3 separate regions of the Homo sapiens genome follow, and all the other regions are linked to region 3. The links are contacts of gene promoters, found by promoter capture Hi-C in human tissues and cell types (Jung and others, 2019). All regions are on one chromosome and are shown on one strand. Each heading gives the region's core, a stretch centred on a gene start or on the middle of the fragment in contact. The rest is flanking DNA. Distances are from core to core; before and after follow the strand shown. Region 1 overlaps PIWIL3 (piwi like RNA-mediated gene silencing 3). Region 2 overlaps KIAA1671. Region 3 holds the start of KIAA1671.

Region 1 (3,446 bases), core at 320-2,819, 180 kb after region 3:
CCCAAGTAGCTGGGACTACAGGTGCCCGCCACCACACCTGGCTAATTTTTTATATTTTTAGTAGAGAGGGGGTTTCACCATGTTAGCTAGTATGGTCTCGATCTCCTGACCTTGTGATCCACCCGCCTCGGCCTCCCAAGCTGCTGGGATTATAGGCATGAACTATGGCGCCTGGCCGTGTTAGTGTATTTTATGTGTAGCCCAAAACAATTCTTCCAATGTGGCCCGGGGAAGTCAAAAGATTGGACATTCCTGCTTTAAACAACACAACATAACAACTACTTACAAAGTATTTACATGGTATTAGGTATCATAAATAATCTAGTGATGATTTAAAGGTATACAGGAGGATGTGCATAGGATGTATACAAATACAACACCATTTTGTATCAGGGACTTGAGCATCCACAGATTTTGGTATCAGCGGTAGACTGTGGAACCAATCCCTGTGGATACCCAAGGAGGACTGTATAGTTGGCCTCGTTTTTATTAACCTAAGACAATAGCACCACCTTGCGGCTCTTTGTCCCAGGCACAGACAAGCTGAGCCCATGGAACAAAAATGAGCCTTCCACAGATGGTGAAGAGGAAACCTTGTCTCATGGCCAAGGCTGAGGCTGGAGCAGGGAGAAAAACCATATTTGTTCACATAAACATTCCAGGCTCAGACATGCTCATCTCCTTGAGAATAAAGTTTGTTTCTGAGAAACTATTGTCCAAGCTGTCAGCCCCTAGAAGAGGAACAGAAAATGAAATCTCTCTCCTTGGGCCTCCTCCACCTGCAGAGTTGCGTTCTTGGGGCAGAGAATGCTGTCTGTTCACAGTGGCTGGCAGGACAGTGAGGCTTTGGCCCTGTCACCCATAGAGGTAAGGGCTGAGGGAGACATTGCTGTCAGCCACAGACCTTCCTGCTTCTTGTTTTCCTTTGATGTCTGCAGAATGAAAAAGGGAAAACAGGCCAGGCGTGGGGGCTCACGCCTGTAATCCCAGCATTTTGGGATGCTGAGGCGGGTGGATCACGAGGTCAGGAGTTCAAGACCATCCTGGCCAAGATGGTGAAACCCTGTCCCTACTAAAAATACAAAAATTAGCCGGGCATGGTGGTGTCCTCTGTAATCCCAGCTACTTGGGAGGCTGAGGCAGGAGAATCACTTGAACTTGGGAGGTGGAGGTTGCAGTGAGCCGAGATTGTGTCACTGCACTCACTCCAGCCTGGGCAACAGAGCAAGACTCCATCTCAAGAAAAAAAAAACACAAAAAACAAACAACAACAACAAAAAACAACAACAAAAAAAGAAAAAGGGAAAACAAAATATAGGATTCTTTTTGTGATGGTCACAAAACAGTGGCAAATGTCAGCTCTGTGCAGTCCCCAATAAGAGTTTTGCACTGATGAAGCCATCAGCCATTGGAAACAGCAATTTGTCCTCAGAAAAGTAGTTGCAGGAGAGTCTATCAGACCTGACAGTGAATGTGAGCACTCTTTTTACCTTCCTTCCCCAGAGTGAGAAATGATGGACAGGAATTTTTCTTTCCTGACTCAGTTTGCAGGCTTTTGGCCTGTGAGCTTGGGGATGAACCCAGGTGAGGGGCAAAGGAGGTTGGCTCTGGGGATAGGTAGGCTTGCCTTCTAATCCCACTTCTGTCACTTGCTGACTGTGTGACCTTGGGCAAGTCACTGTCCTTTCAGTTTGAATATTATGCCTAGAGTATAATTTTTGGTATTTATCTTGCTTAGTGTTCTATGAACTTCCTGGATCTGTGATTTAATTCTGTTTTTAATTTTGGAAAATTTTCGGTCATTATTATTTCAAATACTTCTCCTGTTCCTTTCTCTCTTTCTTTCCTTATGATATTCCCATTATGCATGTTACACCTTTTATAGTTATCCCAGTTCTTGGGACGTATTCTGCTTTGTCTTTTTATTCCTTTTTCTCTTTGCCCTTTTTTTTTTTTGAGACAGAGTTTCGCCTTTGTTGCCCAGGCTGGAGTGCAATGGCTCGATCTCAGCTCACTGCAACCTCCACCTGCCAGGTTCAAGCAATTCTCCTGCCTCAGTCTCCCAAGTAGCTGGGATTACAGGCACACATCACCACACCTGGCTAATTTATTTATTTATTTATTTATTTTTTTTAGTAGAGACGGGGTTTCACCATGTTGTCCAGGCTGGTCTCGAACTCCTGACCTCAGGTTATCCGCCCACCTCAGCCTCCCAAAGTGCTGGGATTGCAGGCCTGAGTCACCCCGCCCAGCTGGCCAGGAATTTTCAAGTGCTTAGCAGGTTCAGGCTTTTCAAATCTTTAGGATATTTTCAAGATGTAGTAAACAAATAGTTACTGCTGCACCATAGACAGTGCAGAATTTTTTGAGACAGAGTCTCACTCTGTCACCCGGGCTGGAGTGCAGTGGTATGATCATAGTCCACTGCAGCCTTGAACTCCCAGGCTCAAGCGATCCTCCTGTCCTCCTGCCTCAACCTCCCAAGCACCAGGGACTACAGGTGTGCACCACCATCCTAGTTAATTTTTTAATTTTTTTTTTTTTTAGAGACGGTGTCTTGATGTTGCCCCGGCTAGTCTTGAACTACTGGGCTCAAGCAATCCTCCTGCCTCAGCCTCCCAAAGTGCTGGGATTACAGGCATGAAACTCTGTGCCTGGCCAACAGTGCACAACTGAGTCTGGAATTCAAGCTGAGAACGCATGCAGATTTCTATAGGATAATGGTGCAATTTCAAAGCAGTAAGACAAAGATTAGTTAAGAAACCGTGCCAGATAACTAACTATTTCTCTCATAATTGACAGGCATTCAATGTGTACATCAAGGATCTGGATGTAACTGTGATAAAATATTAAAGAATTGGTGATTTTTAAAAAATATCTAGGCTAGGCCAGGCGCGGTGGCTCACGCCTGTAATCCCAGCACTTTGGAAGGCTGAGGCAGGCGGATCACAAGGTCAGGAGATCAAGACCATCCTGGCTAACATGGCGAAACCCCGTCTCTACTAAAAAAAATACAAAAAAATTAGCCAGGCCTGGTGGCGGGCGCCTGTACTTCCAGCTACTCGGGAGGCTGAGGCAGGAGAATGGCGTGAACCCAGCAGACAGAGCTTGTAGTGAGCTGAGATCACGCCACTGTACTCCAGCCTGGGCAACAGAGCCAGACTCTGTCTCAAAACAAAAACAAAAACAAAACAAAACAAAACAAAAAAACAAAAAACCTAGGCTAGGCATGGTGGCTCACACCTGTAATCCCAGAAATTCGGGAGGCTGAGATGGGATGATCGCTTGAGCTCAGGAGCTCAAGACCAGCCCAGGCAACATGGTGAAACCCCGTCTCCACAAAAAATACTAAAAAATTAGCCAGGAGTAGTGGCAGCACCTGCAGTTCCAGCTACTCTGGAGGCCGAAGTGGGAGGATTTCTTGAACCCAGGAGGCTGAGGTGGGA
Region 2 (3,955 bases), core at 1,331-3,830, 160 kb before region 3:
CTAGAGTTGTTATTCTGTTCTTCTCTTCCAACACTCCACACAGAGGCACAGATATAGCTCTCCCTTGCTCAGTACCCTCCAATGCTAAAATCTGACATCCTATCAGAATCCCCCTCCCTGGCCCTATCCGGCCTGGCCCCTGGCCCACCTCTCTGAGCTCACCTCTCCCACTGACTTGTGCTGCTCCAGTCACTCTGGGCTCCTTGCTGCTCCTCAAACACACCAGGCACGAACCTGCCTCAGGGCCTTTGCACTGCCTTTCCTGCTGTCCCAATGTCCCTCCAAACTTTCTGGGGCTCATCCCCTCACTCATGCAGGTCTCTGCTCCAATGTCACCTCCTGAGAAGACTTTCCTGACCACTGTTCCTAAAATACACTCCCATGGGTCCCCATGCCCTGTTACATTTTCTTCAGAGCCCTCACCATTATCTGAGAGTACTTTCTTTGTTCATTCATTGGTTTACTTAATTGTTTAATGTGTCTCCCTGCTCCTATGAGTCCCATGAGGGCAAAGACCCTGCCTGTTTTCTCCTCTACTGAGCACAGTATCTGGTACAAAACAGGTACTCAATTAAAAATTCCTAATGAATGAATGAGTGGTTTTTATTACCATTATACTTCAGATTTTCCATCCTGCCCTCTACAGGGAAAGAACTCCAGGCCTCCCTGGACTAGAATCCTGGCGTCAACTCTGAGATCAGATGAGACTGGGAGCATTCAGGGTGATGTGGCCGTACACTTCTTGTCATCTCTTAAGAGGTGTACACCAGGGCTGTGTCACTTATCCTCTCCAGGCCTCAGTTTACCCATCTATAATATGGAGGTGGTGTCACAGGGTGGACACAAGAATGAAGGACAGTGGATTTCAGGAAGGCAGATACTCTGTGAGCTCCTAGCCACTGTTCTGGGTACTGGCAATATCAAGGTGAACCAGGACGGCCAAAGCCCTGGCCCTCATGGACCTTACATCCTAGTAGAGGAGTCAGAGAATAAACCAGGGAACAAGTGACATGAAATAAGTATAGAATGAGATAGGTCCCAGGAAGAAATGTAGGATGGGTGCAGGGAAACGCAGGGAGTTCACCACAGCCTGGAACGTCGGGAAGCCTCTCTGCAGAGGTGAAGAGAGGGCAAGGGCATTTCAGCAGAGGGAATGGTGATGGCAAAGTCCTGGCGTCTGGAAGGAGCAGGGGGTGACTGACGAAGAGCAGGAGGTCAGAGGGGCAAGGTCAGAGTGAGCATAAAGGACAGAGGTAGGAGCTGATGTTAGCAGGGAGGCAGGGCCAGGTCGCACAGGAAAACTGGGCATCTAAGTCTGGGGTGAGGCAGGGGAATGACCTGATCTCTTGGGTTGTTGGGAGGAGAATGGACTGGATGGGAGGGGCCAGAGTGTAAGCTGTGGGGAGTGTGTGGGGGGCTGACAGTGGCCCCTAAAAAGATACGTTGGCTGGATGCAGTGTCTCACGTCTGTAATCCCAGCACTTTGGGAGGCTGAAGTAGGTGGATCCCTTGAGCCCAGAAGTTTGAGACTACCTTGGGCAACAAGGTAAAACTCTGTCTCTATTAAAAATACAAAAAAATTAGGTAGGTGTGGTGGTGTACACCTGTAGTCCCAGCTACTTGGGAGGTTGAGGTGATCATCCTAGGTGAGATCATCCTAGGTAATCCAGGAGGCTCCCATGTTCAGGGACAAGTGTCCTTACCAGAGACAGGAAAGGAGATGACAGAGAAGAGGAGATAGTGACATGAAGATAGAGGCAGAGATTGGGGTGATGTGGCCACAAGCCAAAGAATGCCTGGAACCACCAGAAGCTGGAAGAGGTGAGAAAGGATGCTCCCCTAGAGCCTCTGGAGGGAGGCGTTGACTGCTGACATTTTTTTTTTTTTTTTTTTTTTTGAGACAGAGTTGCATTCTTGTTGCCCAGGCTGGAGTGCAATGGTGTGATCTCGACTCACTGCAACCTCCACCTCCCGGGTTCAAGCAATTCTCCTGCCTCAGCCTCCTGAGTAGCTGGGATTACAGGCATGCGTCACCACACTGGGCTAATTTTGTATTTTTAGTAGAGATGGGGTTTCTCCATGTTGGTCAAGCTGGTCTTGAACTCCCGATCTCAGGTGATCCGCCCGCCTCGGCCTCCCAAAGTGCTGGGATTACAGGTGAGTCACCACACCCGGCCGACTGCTGACATTTTGATTTTGGACTTCTGGACTCCGGAACTGTGAGAGATGAAGTTATATTAATTTAAGCCACCAAGTTTGTGGTAATTTGTTACAGAGCCGGAGGACCCCAGTAGGGAGAGAGTACTGATGGAGATGGGGCTGAAATGCAGCTTCTGAAGGCAGGAGTTCTATACATCCTTTCCTTGCAATTCTCCCCCACTTGCTGAAGCAGTGTGTCTGTGTGTGTGTGTGTGTGTGTGTGTGTGTGTGTGTGTGTGTGTGTGTGTGTGGTTGGGGGAGATGCTGAGCCCTGCTGAATATTTTAAGCCTCCATTACAGTCCATAATTAACACAGAAGCAAATACTCCCACTCGGCCTTGGGCTGGAGGACTGAACGCTCAGCTCTGGGGCCGATGTTTAATAGTGAATCCCCAGTGCAGGGTGTGGTCATGCTCCCAGCAAGGCCGACACATGCTGGATGGAGTCCCCACTTCATGGATCCCCAGTCCTGTGACTTCCCCTCTCTGTGCTTCAGATTTCTCCATTCACAAAGTATGGGGCTATACCCCACAGGGGCAGCTGTGTGGTTCCTGGCAAGCAGGAGAGGCTCATGGATGTGGGATCCCTGCCCTTCTCCCCATATTTAAGTCACTGGGAGAATATACCCCAGCTACAATTATTGTGCCCCACACCACATTATATACGACAGTGTTCTCAAACCTGGATGGGGGCTGGGAGGGGGCATTGTGATTCTGCCCCCAAGAGACTTGGCAATGTCTGGATATTTTTGGTTGTCACAACTGTGGGATGCTACTGGCTTCTAGTGGGTAGGAACCAGGGATAAGCTTACAATGCACAGACTCTACCCCTTACCCCCCACAGCCATAAACAATTATGTAGCCCAATATATCATTAGAGCTGAGGCTGAGAAACTCTAATATACAGCAATAGTTTGAGGTTAAAGACAGACCCTTGATATTTTAAGATAGTTCTCTCATTTTCAGCACATATATGACATATTTACATTCTGATGTGTTTTATTATCAGCCTCACTAGAAGGCAGCTCTGTGAAGGCAGGAGTTTTGTCTCTTTCGTTCACAGCCATTTCTCCTGCACCAGAGTTGTGGTAGATACTCAGTAAATACTGACTGAGGGGGCCAGGTGTGGTGGCTCACACCTGTAATCTCAGCACTTTGGGAGGCTGAGGTGGGTGGATCACCTGAGGCCAGAGTTCGAGACCAGCCTGGCCAACATGGTGAAACCCTGTCTCTACTAAAAATACAAAAATTAGCCGGGTGTGGTGGAACACGCCTGCAGTCCCAGCTACTCAGGAGGCTGAGGCAGGAGAATTGCTTGAACCCAGGAGGCGGAGGTTGCAGTGAGCCAAGACTGCACCATTGCACTCCAGCCTAGGGGACAGAGCAAGACTCCATCTCAATACGTACATACATACATACATACATACATACATACATACATACATACATACATACTGGTGGAGGGGGTGGGGTACAGTGGCTCATGCTTGCAATCCCCACACTTTGGGAGGCTGAGGTGGGAGGATCACTTGAGGCCAGGAGCTCAAGACCAGCCTGGGCAACATAGCAGGACCCTGTCTCTACACAAAAGAAAAAAAATGGCTGGGTGTGGTGGCACATGCCTGTAGTCCCAGCTATTCCAGAGGTGAGAGGATGGCTTGAACGCAGGGTATCGAGGCTGTGGTGAGCTATGATCGTGCCACTCCACTCCAGCTCCAGTGACAGGGCAAGACCTTGTCTTCAAAATAAGTAAATGA
Region 3 (3,576 bases), core at 895-3,394:
GCAGTGAGCCGAGATCGCGCCATTGCACTCTAGCCTGGGCTGCAGAGCGAGACTCCATCTCAAAAAACAAAATAAAACAAAACAAAACAAAACAAACGAAAAAAAGCAGCCCCTAGGACCTCCAGTGGGGGTAGGGGCAGCTTCCAGCCTCTGAACCTAGGGTGAGAACTGTATCCCCAACATCAAGAATCAGTACTAGACTGCAGGGCAAGCCGACTGCTCCATAGCTGGAAAGTAACTCCAAGAGGACAAATCCTGAGTTGCCCTAGGCCACACCATTTCTACAGTGCTCCTGACATAGGTGCTCAATACACGCTGGTTGATGGAGCCAGCCAGTTCATGTGCCCAGCTGAAATGTATGTCCAGACACTGCATTGAAACTCTGCACTTCTCTTGGGTAATTGCACCCTTGTCAAGCATGCAAATCCTTTAAAAAGGATCCCCCTGCCAGAACCACCAAGATCTGGGCTTGTGTCTGTACAAATTCCTCGGGAACTGTCCCTGGCTGCAACAGGAAGGAAGGAGGCGCCAGAGTCTGGGGGTGCACACGTTTGTCCAGGAACCTTGATGGATTAGCAGAGGGAAAGCCAGACCAAGGGAGAAGCTTTGTCCAAATGTCTTGGTTACTCATTAGCCAAACCTCAGAGCTTCTCTCTGCAAGGGGGGATCAGAGGGGCAATTAACCCATTTGGAAGAAAGGTTAAGCTAAATAGCTCTCTAATCCTGCGGTTTCAAAAGATAGCAAGTAGGGTTTCTGGAATCTTTAGATACTGTAAGGCAAGCACAGGGGATGGGGCACGGGAAAGGAGAGGCCATAGACTGAGGGAGGCACTGATACTTATAGAGCCCCTACCTGTTTCATACCCTTCATTCCGATCCATCCTAGGCCAAGCCCATTTTGCCCAGAGGGTCCCCATCTGGATTCAGATAGGTTAAGTGTTTTGCCCAAGGTCACAAAAAAGGTGCAAAGAAAGTGTTTTTCTTTGTGCAACAGGTACAGTCCTTTCCCTTCCAAAAGATAATGGCTGCTCCTGGCTAGAGAAAGTTCAGTCCCGGCAGGCAGGAAGCCCTAGCCACCTAGGCGTCGCGCGGTGGAGGTCACACGCCTGCTCCGGGACTGGACAAACAGCAGGGTTTTAAGGCGCGGCGTCCCCACTCCCAGGCGAGTTTGTGCCAGCAGGGTGTGAAAAGGTCAGGCTCGGGTGGGGGTCAACGAGCCGCTTCCCATCCCGAGGGCCCCACCCGTGAGCCCGGGTGGGCCGCGCCGCCATCGGGGCGGGGACCACGCGGGCCTGCCTGGTAACAGGGGGACTGAGGCTTAATCCCATCAGGGCGCCTCCGCCCTGGGAAGACGAGCGGAGGGGGGGCGCAGGCCAGGCCGAGAGGACGTGTCCGGAGCCTCCGCGTCCGAGGGGCCCCGCGCGCCGCCCCTCTCACGCCCCCCGAACCACCGCGCTGTCCTCCGGGCTCCCCTCGACCAGGGTTCCGTCTCGCTCGCCGCCCTTGCTTCCCACTTCCACCTCCGGGGCCTCCAACCCGCACAAATGTCCAGACCCTAGCAGCTCCAGGCTGAGTAACCCAGATCTCCAGCGATCCCTCAGCTCCTAGCCACGGGATCTCTCTGAATCCATTCCCAAGGCTCAGGCTGGCATGGGAGGAGATTGATCCTCTCGCTCCCAGTCTCGAATCACCCTTCGCCGTCACCCCTGACTGGGGATCCAGTGGGACCCCAGGCCTCCAGCGCCCGATCCCCTCCAGGGATCGACTCCCAAGTCGCCAACCAGGTGGCACGTGATCCATTGGTTGCCCTGTGCGGGATCTTCCCGCGGGATCCACTCTCAAGTCTCGGGAGACGGATTCCCCGGCTCCCAAACCGGGATCCTCCCTCCCTGCAGACCCGGAGTCTGGGGAAATCCTCCGGCTCCCCGCCTCTTCCCCGGCCAACTTTGCCAACTTTTCTCCCGGGGCCTCGGCCGGGCAGAAACTTGGCGGCCCTCGCCAGCCGCCGTCACCCCCAGCTACCTCGTCGGCCGGGGACAGGAGGCGGCCAGCCGGCCCCCACTGCCCGCAGCCGCTGCGCAACCTACCGTGGAGCCACCGCCAGCCCGCGCCGCGCCGCCACCTGCCCGCAGCCCGCGGCACCTGCCCTGGGAGCCCGCAGCCCCGCGCAGCCTAGCCTGCTGGGGGCGGGGCCTCGAGCGGGGACGCGCCCCCGTCACCATGGGAACTGCCGCCGGCCGCGCCTGCGCGGAGGGGAGCAGAGCAGGCAGGACCCGAGTCCGCAGTGGCGCCTGGGCCTGGGACCTCTCCGGCGGGTCAGAGGTCACGACTCGCTTGGACACCCCTGCCGGAAGCGCTCCCGCCCCTCGAGGCCCGACCCCGCTCTGTCCAATTGGGAACTTTGCTCCGGGTACCCTCCCGCGTTCCCTGGATGTTCCCCAGTCACCAGCCAGGATCCCCCGCCACCGGCACCGACCCGCTGCCCAGCCGGCGACCCCGAGAGCCTAATGCAACCCAGGATTTCAGGAGGCGCTCCATAAATGTGGGCCCACTGACTTGCCTGGGCTGCTGGTGCCGGCCCGGGGGCGGGCAAGGTCTGTGCGCGGTGCTGGCGCCTCCTCGCGCCAAGCAAGGGCACTGCACCTGAGAGTTCGCTGGAGCGCCTACTGTGTGCGCATCCTCCTGCCATTATGTTGTGGGTGTGAGTTGTGGGGTAATGGGTACAGGAACTTGTGGACAAGTTGAGAGAATCGTAGGAAGTCGCCTCTGAAAGAGAAAATACCTGTTCTGTTATCCGTTACTCATTTCATTCAGCAGATCTTTATTAAGCACCTATTGCATGCTGGGTGCTGGAGAACCCAGTGGTGGGCAGCTGGCAAAATCCAGGCTGTTGTGCAGCTTACAGATATTCAAACAAATAATTTCACGAGTATATCAAATTGAATCTGTGACATGTGCTCCTATGGGAAATGTACAGAGCATGAATAACTGGAGGACCTAAAATCAATGTGCCTTTATTATAAGCAAGATAGACCTCAATAAAAAAAGAGAAAGAAAAGGACATCACAGGCTGCGCACGGTGGCTTGTAATCCCAGCATTTTGGGAGGCCGAGGCGGGTGGATCACCTGAGGTCATGAGTTTGAGACCAGCCTGGCCAACGTGGTGAAACCTCGTCACTACTAAAAATTACAAAAATTAGCTGGGCGTGGTGGCGGATGCCTGTGATCCCAGCTACTCGGGAGGCTAAGGCAGGAGAATGGCTTGAACCCGGGAGGTGGAGATTGCAGTGAGCCAAGAGCGCGCCACTGCACTCCAGCCTGGACGACAGAGCAAGACTCCATCTCAAAAAAAAAAAAAAGAAAAAGACATCACATTGTGTGGCTTCAGGAGGATTGGTGGGGAGACTTCTTGCCTCATTTTGCTCTTAAATTGTTGGGTGTGTGTAAGAAACAAGGGTAGCTCCTGTTCTCCACACCGTTTGCACTGCAACCCTTTTGAAGGTCTGATCATCACCATCAGACCCAGGCAGGGTAAACCCTGTTTACCAAACAGCAGCCCGAGAACCCCCAACTGAC

What was found. Contacts are between HindIII fragments. The study calls those that stand out against the background at their distance.
Region 1: a contact is called between a fragment that was not itself captured here and the fragment with the promoter of KIAA1671 in region 3, in 3 of the 25 tissues and cell types used here (bladder, dorsolateral prefrontal cortex and mesendoderm cells).
Region 2: a contact is called between a fragment that was not itself captured here and the fragment with the promoter of KIAA1671 in region 3, in 4 of the 25 tissues and cell types used here (dorsolateral prefrontal cortex, liver, mesendoderm cells and 1 more).

The regions. Positions count from the first base shown.
Region 1 is chr22:24,766,062-24,769,507 of GRCh38, reverse strand. The region is part of intron 1 of PIWIL3 (piwi like RNA-mediated gene silencing 3); the gene reads left to right. Among named protein-coding and RNA genes, the nearest start is that of PIWIL3, 6.9 kb to the left of the region's middle. The HindIII fragment of the contact is 8,444 bases long and covers 1-3,446 here.
Region 2 is chr22:25,116,081-25,120,035 of GRCh38, reverse strand. The region is part of intron 6 of KIAA1671; the gene reads right to left. Among named protein-coding and RNA genes, the nearest start is that of KIAA1671-AS1, 5.4 kb to the right of the region's middle. The HindIII fragment of the contact is 3,704 bases long and covers 729-3,955 here.
Region 3 is chr22:24,951,284-24,954,859 of GRCh38, reverse strand. It overlaps KIAA1671, which reads right to left and starts at 2,144. Exons shown (of 13, transcript NM_001145206.2): 1 at 2,088-2,144. RefSeq lists a silencer at 2,078-2,327. The HindIII fragment of the contact is 5,810 bases long and covers 1-3,576 here.